3 separate regions of the Homo sapiens genome follow, and regions 1 and 2 are each linked to region 3. The links are contacts of gene promoters, found by promoter capture Hi-C in blood cells and fetal thymus (Javierre and others, 2016). All regions are on one chromosome and are shown on one strand. The core of a region is centred on a gene start or on the middle of the fragment in contact, and the rest is flanking DNA. Distances in the headings are between cores, read along the strand shown.

Region 1 (2,891 bases), core at 206-2,705, 190 kb before region 3:
ATGCTGCAATAAGTAACCTCGTACAGATACTTTCTTAAACATATGTAAGAACATCTGTCTCATATATTGCTAGAAGTGAAATTTCTGGGTGAACGGCTGTGCTGGTAATTTTGATAGCTATTACCAAATTCTACCCATAGACATTTTACCAGTTGGACTCCCACCAGCAACATACAAGAATGTCCAGTTCCACACAGACGCATCCATAGAATGTCATTGCTGGTGCTCAGAAAACAATACACCAAAATGAAGGCCTCAAAAGCAAAAGTTCTTTTCTGACCTTCTCCTACCCTCCTATCTCTCAGTCCCATTCTCCCTCAAGACTAGAATTCTAGAAAACTAGAATTCTAGAAACTAGAATCCTTCTTCCCCAAGGTGGGCCATAGAAACCAGTACCCCTTTTCCCCATAGAAACCAGAACCCTTTTTCCCCAATCAGCCATAAAACCTAAAAATCTTACTCTAAGTTTCCATCTGCCTTTCTTTCTAAAATCTGGCCATAAAAAAAATTATCTGACCTACCTTGTTTGACTGTAGGCCCAAAGGCCCCCAATCCAGAGAGATCTTTCCCCATACTCAGAAGGAAGGAATGCATGCTCAGGAAGGCCGAGAAGAATCTAGACAGAGAGGCCTTGCTGGGTTTCCCCACTCATTCTATTAGCATTAGATTAGACCCTTTTTGTCCAATCATTTTTCTACATGGCCGATCATACATTGTTGAACCTAAGCATAAAAATGGGCAGTTTCTCCTCTTTTCTAGCTAGAACCATAGAGGGTGTCGAAGAGAAGCAGCAGCAGCTTCCCGCTGTGTCAGAAACTTAAGAAAAAACAAAGGAATTTCGCAGAACTGAAGATCAAGCGCCTGAGAAAGAAGTTTGCCCAAAAGATATTTTGAAAGGCAAAAAGGAAGCTTATCTATGAAAAAGTGAAGCACTATCACAAGGAATATAGGCAGATGTACAGAACTGAAATTCGAATGGTGAGGATGGCAAGAAAAGCTGGCAACGTCTATGTGCCTGCAGAACCCAAATTGGTGTTTGTCATCAGATTCAGAGGTATCAATGGTGTGAGCACAAAGGTCCGAAAGGTGTTGCAGCTTCTTTGCCTTCATCAAATCTTCAATGGAACCTTTGTGAAGCTCAACAAGGCTTCAACTAACATGCTGTGGATTGTAGAGCCATACATTGCATGGAGGTACCCAAATCTGAAGTCAGTAAATGAACTAATCTACCAGCGTGGTTATGGCAAAATCAGTAAGAAGCAAATTGCTTTGATAGAAAACGCTTTGATTGCTCAATCTCTTGGTAAATATGGCACCATCTGCCTGGAGGATCTGATTCATGAGACCTATACTGTTGGAAAATGCTTCAAAGAAGCAAATAGCTTCCTGTGGCCCTTCAAATTATCTTCTCCAAGAAGTGGAATGAAGAAACTGACCATCTATTTTGTAGAAGGTGGAGATGCTGGCAACAGGGAGGACCAGATTAACAGGCTTCTTAGAAGAATGAACTAAGGTGTCTACCATGATTATTTTTCTAATCAGGTCAGTTAATAAACAGTACTTGCTCTCAAACTGAAGAAAAAAAATGAACAATTTCCCCTGTATTTTTTTTTTTTTTTGAGACGAAGTCTCACTCTGCTGCCCAGGCTAGAGTGCAGTGGCGCCATCTCTGCTCACTGCAAGCTCCACCTCCCGGGTTCAAGCTCCCATATAAACATGTTAAATACATTTGCACGCCTTTTATCCAAATAATCTGCCTTTTGCAAGTTAATTTTTCAGCGAAACTTCAGAGGGCTCTTGGCCCCTAAATTGTCCAATCTTAGGATTTTTGCCAACCTTCCAGGTGTACACATTCTTTACTCATTACTTAGCTGTTGTTCTTACAGAGACAGAATATGAGTTGCAAATGTGATTCCCCAGTTCTTTTTATTTTATATACTTCTTTTCCCCGCCTTTTCGTTTTATTTTTGTGCTAGTTTCTGTTTTATATAGTCAAATTTATCAAGCTTTTCTTTTGTGACTTTAGGATTTTAAGGCATAGTTGCAAAGGTCTTCCTAACTGCAAGATTTTAAAGGTATTTCTTCTGCTTCTTTCAAGAACTTTTAAGTTTACAATAATAACTTATGCAAGTAGTGATAGTTTTACCTTCTCCTTTCACAATTTTTATACTCCTAGTCTCTGTCTCTTGTCTAATTGCATTGGCTAAAACCTTCAGCACCTTGTGAAATAATAGCAGTGACGACGGACATCTTTTATCTTATTCCTCACTTTATTGGAAATGTTTATAAATTCTGGCATTAAGCACGATGTTGAGCTGAGATCAATTTATCTTATCATGTTAAGGAAATATCCATCTATATCTACCTAAGTCAATATTTTTATCAAGCATGGTTGTCAAATTTGGCCAAATGTATTTTCAGCATCTATGGAGACCATTTTATGGTTTTTCTTCAGATCTACCCATATGATCAGATATATTAATATATTTCCAATATCAAAATATCTAGACTAAACCTCAGGGCACATTTCATTTCTTCATGCTTTCTGGCCATCTTCTTTTTCTCACCATCTCCTATTTTTGTTCTTTTTGAGACAGAGTCTTGCTTTGTCGCCCAGGCTGGAGTGCAGTGGCACCATCTCGGCTCACTGCAACCTCCTCCTCCTCCCAGATTAAAGCAATTCTCCCGCCTCAGCCTCCTGAGAAGTTGGGACTAGAGACACTATGTTTACATTAAAAAGTCCATATATATATATATATATATATATATATATATATATATATATAACTTTTTTTCATTAAAAGGATGCTCATGGCAGGGCACAGTGTTTCACGCCTGTAATCCCAGCACTTTGGGAGGCCGAGATGGGTGGATCACCTGAGGTCAGGAGT
Region 2 (2,922 bases), core at 81-2,580, 220 kb before region 3:
TTGTGTTCAGCCAAGGCAACCAACTGATTTATTTAAAAAATAAAAATAAAAAACAATACTATTCAGAGGCTCTAAAAGAATCCAACTCAAACTCCGGTGTGTTAAAAGCTATCTTCCTACCTACTGCACCTTACCTCTTTACAATCTATTTAATCTCTTTTTAAGCTTTGTTAGATGGGAATGAGAAAATTAGCACATCTTTCTGGAAAACACTGTAGCAAAAAGTAACAAGAGTTTAAAATTGTTTGTACCTTTTATCCTTCCTGGGACAAGAGGACACCTTTACAAATTCACTTCTTGCTTTTAGGTAAGTAAAGGAAGGGCAGAGAACTTTTCTTGTATCTGCTTCCTCTCAGTTGCCTTCAGCTCAAAATAATCTTCATGCCAAAGTGGCATATTTTGGGTTTGCATATTCTGCTACTCTTAAGTTTTTAATCATAGCACTATTTTTCATTTGTAAAATTGCATATTACCTACGAGACAGGGAAAGATTTAAAAGTTTCATAAAATGCTATGTTGGAAAGGCTTATTGTTGATATTGAGTTGTTGTTGTTGTTGTTGTTGTTGTTTTTGAGACAGGGTCTCACTCTGTCAACCAGACTGGAGTGCAGTGGCATGAACACAGCTCAGTGCAGCCTCAATCTCCTGGGCTAAAGTGATCGTCCCACCTCAGCCTCCCATATAGCTGGGACCACAGACATGCGCCATTACACCTGGCTAAGTTTTTAAATTTTTTCTAGAGATGGGGTCTTGCCCACACCAGTCTTGAACCCCTAGACTCAAGCAATCCTCCCATCTCAGCCTCCCCAAGTGCTGGGATTACAGGTGTGAGCCACTCTGCCCGACCGATACTGAGCTTTTCATTGCAACAATTCTAATGAGGGCAATTTAGCAATAATCAACCAGAATTACAAATTTCCTGCAATTCCACATCTGGGAACTTATCCTACAGATATACTCACATATATGTGAAACTACCTATGTGCAAGGTTACTCATTGCAGTGATATTTTTAACAACGCAAATTTGGGAACTACTGAAACCATCCATCAGTGAGGGATTGGTGGCCAGGTGTGGTAGTTTGTGCCTGTAATCCCAGCACTTTGGGAAGCCAAGACTGATGGATGGCTTGAGTTCAGGAATTCAAGACCAGCCTGGGCAACATGGTGAAACCCCATCTCTACAAACAAAGTACAAAAATTAGCTGGGCATGGTGGTGCATGCCTGTAATCCCAGCTACTTGAGAGGCTGAGGTGGGAGGCTCGCTTGAGCCTGGGAGGTGGAGGTTGTGGTGAGCCGAGATCAGCCACTGCACTCCAACCTGGGTGACAGCATGAGACCACATCTCAAAAAAAAATAAAAGAATTGTTGATACTATAAAACAATGGAGTATTATTATTCAGCCTTAAAAAATAAAAATAAAAATGCCAGGTGCAGTGGCTCACGCCCATAATCCCAACACTTTGGGAGGCTGAGGTGGGCAAATCGCCTGAGCTCTGGAGTTCGCGACCAGCCTGAGCAACATAGTGAGACCACCGTCTCTACAAAAAATACAAAAAAAAATTAGCCAGGCATGGTGGTGCATGCCTGTAGTCCCAGCTACTCGGGAGGCTGAGGCATGAGAATCGCTTGAACCCAGGAGGCGGAGATTGCAGAGAGCCAAGATGGCACCACTGCACTCCAGCCTGGGGGACAGAGCGAGACTCCATCTCAAAAAAAAAAAAAAATTAAAATTAAAAAATAATAAAAATAAGGATTCTCCTTAAGTACTAACATTGAATCATTGCCAAGATATATAAAGTAAAATAGGCAAGGCACAGAACAGTATTAATTGTTCCCTATTATTCTTTCTCCCTTCTTCCAAAAGTTTTAGCCAGACACATGACCATCAGGAGTAGACTACATTTTCCAGTGTCCCTTGCAGCTAAGAGTGGCTATGTGATTGAAGTCTCCTCAGTGAGATATGAGCAAAACTATTATGTGGCAGCTTCCAGGTCCCTTCCTTAGACAGAGGTATTATGTGGCCTTTGTTTCTCCATTGGACACATTCTTCATTGGATACACTCCATCCTGCTCCCGGGAAAGTAGTTCTCTCATCTTGGTTCATGATTGAACTGGAAGAAAACCAAGTCCCTTTTGGAGCTCACACACATCACAACTCTGGACCACTCTTGGAATTTCGCATGACAGTGATATAACCATCTTTTTTAAACCATTATTATTTGGGGTTTCAGTTATTTGAAGCTGAACCCAGACCTATCTCTTACACAAGTATAAATTTTGCAAGACTTATATCTGGCTAAATTGCCTGCAGAAAGATTGTGTCAATTTGTGCTGCAATAAGTGCTGTATAAATGTGTACAGAGCTTTTTTTTGCCACACTGTGCCATCTCCTGGATACCAGATGCCAACTGCTCGCTGGATCTAGAGACAGGTAAAAAGAATCTACAAATGTGACCTGGATGCCAGGACAGGCAGAGGCACCAGTACCAGCAAGAAGCTTCAGAAATAGAGTAGTTATTAAAATGACCATTTGCAGTGAGAAAATAAATCACTACAAACTACCAACTACCAGAGGCTAGGAGATTCAGGTCCCTTACTTGTGACATCTCTTTAGGCAATTTATCATAAATGCTTTTATATGGATGCATCCTGCTTACAATCTGGCTTCCCCTTCCGCTTAGGTCACCCTTTAACTCTCTGTAAGTCCCAGCACCCACAGAATCTGAGCAAGTGAAGGACCAGGAATTTTAAACCTCAGTAAAGTCCACCGTGCTGTTAATGTTAATCTGCCCTGAGCAGACACACCTTGTAAATACTCTGAGAATAAGGTTCAAAGTACCAAGGGCACTTGAGGAGGACATGGCTTTGCTTCAGTCAGGGAAGATTTCCTAGAAAAGTTAATGCTTAACAGAAGCCAACA
Region 3 (2,868 bases), core at 221-2,720:
TGAGTCCTGAAGGTCTAGGCTGCAGCGAGGCGTGATTGTGCCGCTGTACTCTAGCCTGGGCAACAGAGAACAACCCTGTTTCAAAAAAAAAAAAAAAAAAAAGAAAAAGAAAAAAATAAAATTTAAAAATATTTTTTAAAGCTTGTAACATAAAAGTTCTAATCTCATTAGTCAGTTGTAATTTTCCATTTCATTTCTAAACTTTAGAGTGGGCTATTTTTTCCCTTTATTTCCTCTGGAGCAATTGTCCTCTTTATGGCTCTAGTAAAAAGAATCAGGGACAGGCCTCCGTTTTAGATGTAAATGACTAAAATCAAACCAATTAAGGTTTCAGTGCTACAAGAATCAAGGAGGTTTTAATCTCAATTTGTGTTTGCATTTATGACCGTTGGCTCTCCCATGGGAGAGAGAAAAGACGGCCCCTACACCTGGTTTCAGGTTGATTACAATCAACAAGGACCCAGTTTAGTATAGAAGGCTCGTTTTGCATTAAACACCTTTTTGTGCAGAGGAGGTGGTGGTGGTGAAGATAAAAATCTTTGACCAAATCCTGTCAATTTGCATTGTTCTCTGGAAGAATAGGCTTTCAAAAGTTAAGGAACAAAAGAGGAGTTGGTTTTCCAGTCTCCCTTAGGCGGCAGCAGATTGTGAAGCAGCCACCGGGAGGAACCAAAGTATAAATTATCAATAAGAGGACGGTGTGTGTGTGTGTGTGTGTGTGTGTGTGTGTGTGTGTGTGTGTGTCAGAGAAAAGTGAGAGAAGCGAGGAAAGAGATAGGGAACACACATGCTAAGGCTCCGAGGCGTTTTCCACGATGTGCCTGGTTACGTAATGTTGATAATGAAACGCACTGCAAGCAGCATCAATGCATTCTTCCGACCCTGCTCACCACTCCCAGCTGGGATACAATGGGGACGGGAAGAGGGGACAGGATGCCCTGTGCAGGCAGAGAGCTGTCCAGACAGAGGTAAACCAGGCAGTTGGGCAGAACCCGAGCCCAGAGAATTTCTCCCCAGGCCCCGGGACCAGCCCACCGTTGCTGTGGCTCTAAAGATGGGCAGAAGAACCAGTTTCAAAAAGCAGGATCTGGGATCCGACCTCTTAGGTTTTTATTCAGCAGGCAGGGAAAAGGGGTTAGAAGCTGGAAATCTGCATTTCCACTCGGCTCTGGCGACTGAGACAGGAACGCGGACACCTCACGCTGAAAAGCCACAGCAGCGCGTGGGCAGGGCGCACCCCCGCGCGGGGACGCGGAGCTCCTGGAGCGAGAGCGCGTGCGGTCGCGAGCCCGCCGCTCCCCAGCAACGGCGCATGCGCCCGTTCGTCCCTCAGCGAAGGCGCGCTGCTTGGCGGGCGGGCTCTTCCAATCCGAGCCAGCGTTCTCGGAGTACGTATCCAGGAGCTGCAAGCTGAGGGCTGCGGGAGGCGGGAGGAAAAAGTGGGGCCGGGCCTGAGTTGGGCTGACCTGTGAAAGTCTGGGAAGGTCTGCGAGAGAAGCGGAGTGTTTTCAGCTCCGGAAGTGGCAGTTGTAAACTTCACCTCCCGGGGGCTCTTCCCCTTCTGTACCCCTTTGCTGTTTGTCCCCCTCCTCCCGGGTCCTGGAGTCCGTCGTGTTCCAACAGTTTTTGCTCTTATTCCCGTGGGCTGCCTGGGCCTCCTTTCACCCGTGAGACTTGGAGCGGCCCCTGGGGTCTTGGGTGTGCAGCACGGATCACGCGAGACCCCTGAGGTAACCGCACGGTGTGGGGGCTTCGAGGCGGACGACTTGGGAGGGAGGTGTTGAGAGGGTTGTAGGGGCCCCTGAGTGAGTTTGGGGCGGCCCTGGGGCTGTTGGCGTAGGCTTTGGGGCACGCCTCCAGCTCCCTGGGCTGGGTCTCCCCGCCCACCTGGAGGAAGATCTCCGTGGAGCATCCTAGCCAGAGATCGCTGAGGCTGTACCAGAGCGCCGGATGGGGACCAGAGGGGAGGCAGAGGACCGGGATTTGGAGCTTCTTAGGGTTACTGCTGCGGAGCGCTTTCGTTCCCGAGAATCAGTAAGCCCCTCGAGGATAGGGACCACGTCTTTCAGCCCGCTCTCCCCTTTTTAAATGCCGGCCACACACTAGACACTCTACAGATGTTTGATAAACGGGAATGAGTTGTGCTAGACTGTCACCTGCAGCTTCTACCTACCCTCCAGGACTCTGAGAGACTTAGAATCTGAGTCAGCTGTGCGTTTTCCCGAAGCTGTAAATTTTCTGCAGAAATGGAGCCGACTTTTTGAATTTTTTTATTCCATTATGATATTGATCCTAAGAAAATACATATTTCATGTATACATTTTAGGTAAATGAGATAAATACGTCTTTATTTTGTTTATTAGAGTTGGTGTCCAGCTCTTTTGAATACATGACATACCGATGTTTTATGGTTTTCATAATATTGGAGAAAAGAACATACGATTTTGTCACTTTTTTTTTTTTTTGAGATGGAGTCTTGCTCTGTCACCCAGGCTGGAGTGCAGTGGCGCGATCTCGGCTCACTGCAAGCTCCGCCTCCCGGGTTCACGCCATTCTCCTGTCTCAGCCTCCCCAGCAGCCGGGACAACCGGCGCACGCCGCCACGCCCGGCTAATTTTTTTGTATTTTTAGTGGAGACGGGGTTTCACTGTGTTAGCCAGGATGGTCTCGATCTCCTGACATCGTGATCCGCCCGCCTCGGCCTCCCAAAGTGCTGGGATTACAGGCGTGAGCCACTGCGCCCGGCATGTCACTTATTTTATTTAACTGTTAGTTCCTACTCTCAACAAAACAGTGGTAGAGCAGAAGATGAACATGGTTTTTCATAAAATGCAGAGGAAACAAAGGCAGTGCAACCTGCTAAGAGGA

The links. Contacts are between HindIII fragments. The CHiCAGO score rates a contact against its expected background, and 5 or more counts as called.
Region 1: a fragment that was not itself captured here is called in contact with the fragment with the promoter of CCDC171 in region 3 in 1 of 17 cell types (non-activated CD4 T cells); the score reaches 6.6 in non-activated CD4 T cells.
Region 2: a fragment that was not itself captured here is called in contact with the fragment with the promoter of CCDC171 in region 3 in 6 of 17 cell types (non-activated CD4 T cells, naive CD4 T cells, activated CD4 T cells and 3 more); the score reaches 6.9 in non-activated CD4 T cells.

The regions. Positions count from the first base shown.
Region 1 is chr9:15,360,628-15,363,518 of GRCh38, forward strand. It overlaps the pseudogene RPL7P33. Among named protein-coding and RNA genes, the nearest start is that of TTC39B, 55 kb to the left of the region's middle. The HindIII fragment of the contact is 1,097 bases long and covers 908-2,004 here.
Region 2 is chr9:15,330,784-15,333,705 of GRCh38, forward strand. No RefSeq gene overlaps it. Among named protein-coding and RNA genes, the nearest start is that of TTC39B, 25 kb to the left of the region's middle. The HindIII fragment of the contact is 2,334 bases long and covers 164-2,497 here.
Region 3 is chr9:15,551,573-15,554,440 of GRCh38, forward strand. It overlaps CCDC171 (coiled-coil domain containing 171), which reads left to right and starts at 1,471. Exons shown (of 26, transcript NM_173550.4): 1 at 1,471-1,730. RefSeq lists enhancers at 1,068-1,713, 1,609-1,778 and silencers at 1,169-1,228, 1,239-1,328. The HindIII fragment of the contact is 6,396 bases long and covers 140-2,868 here.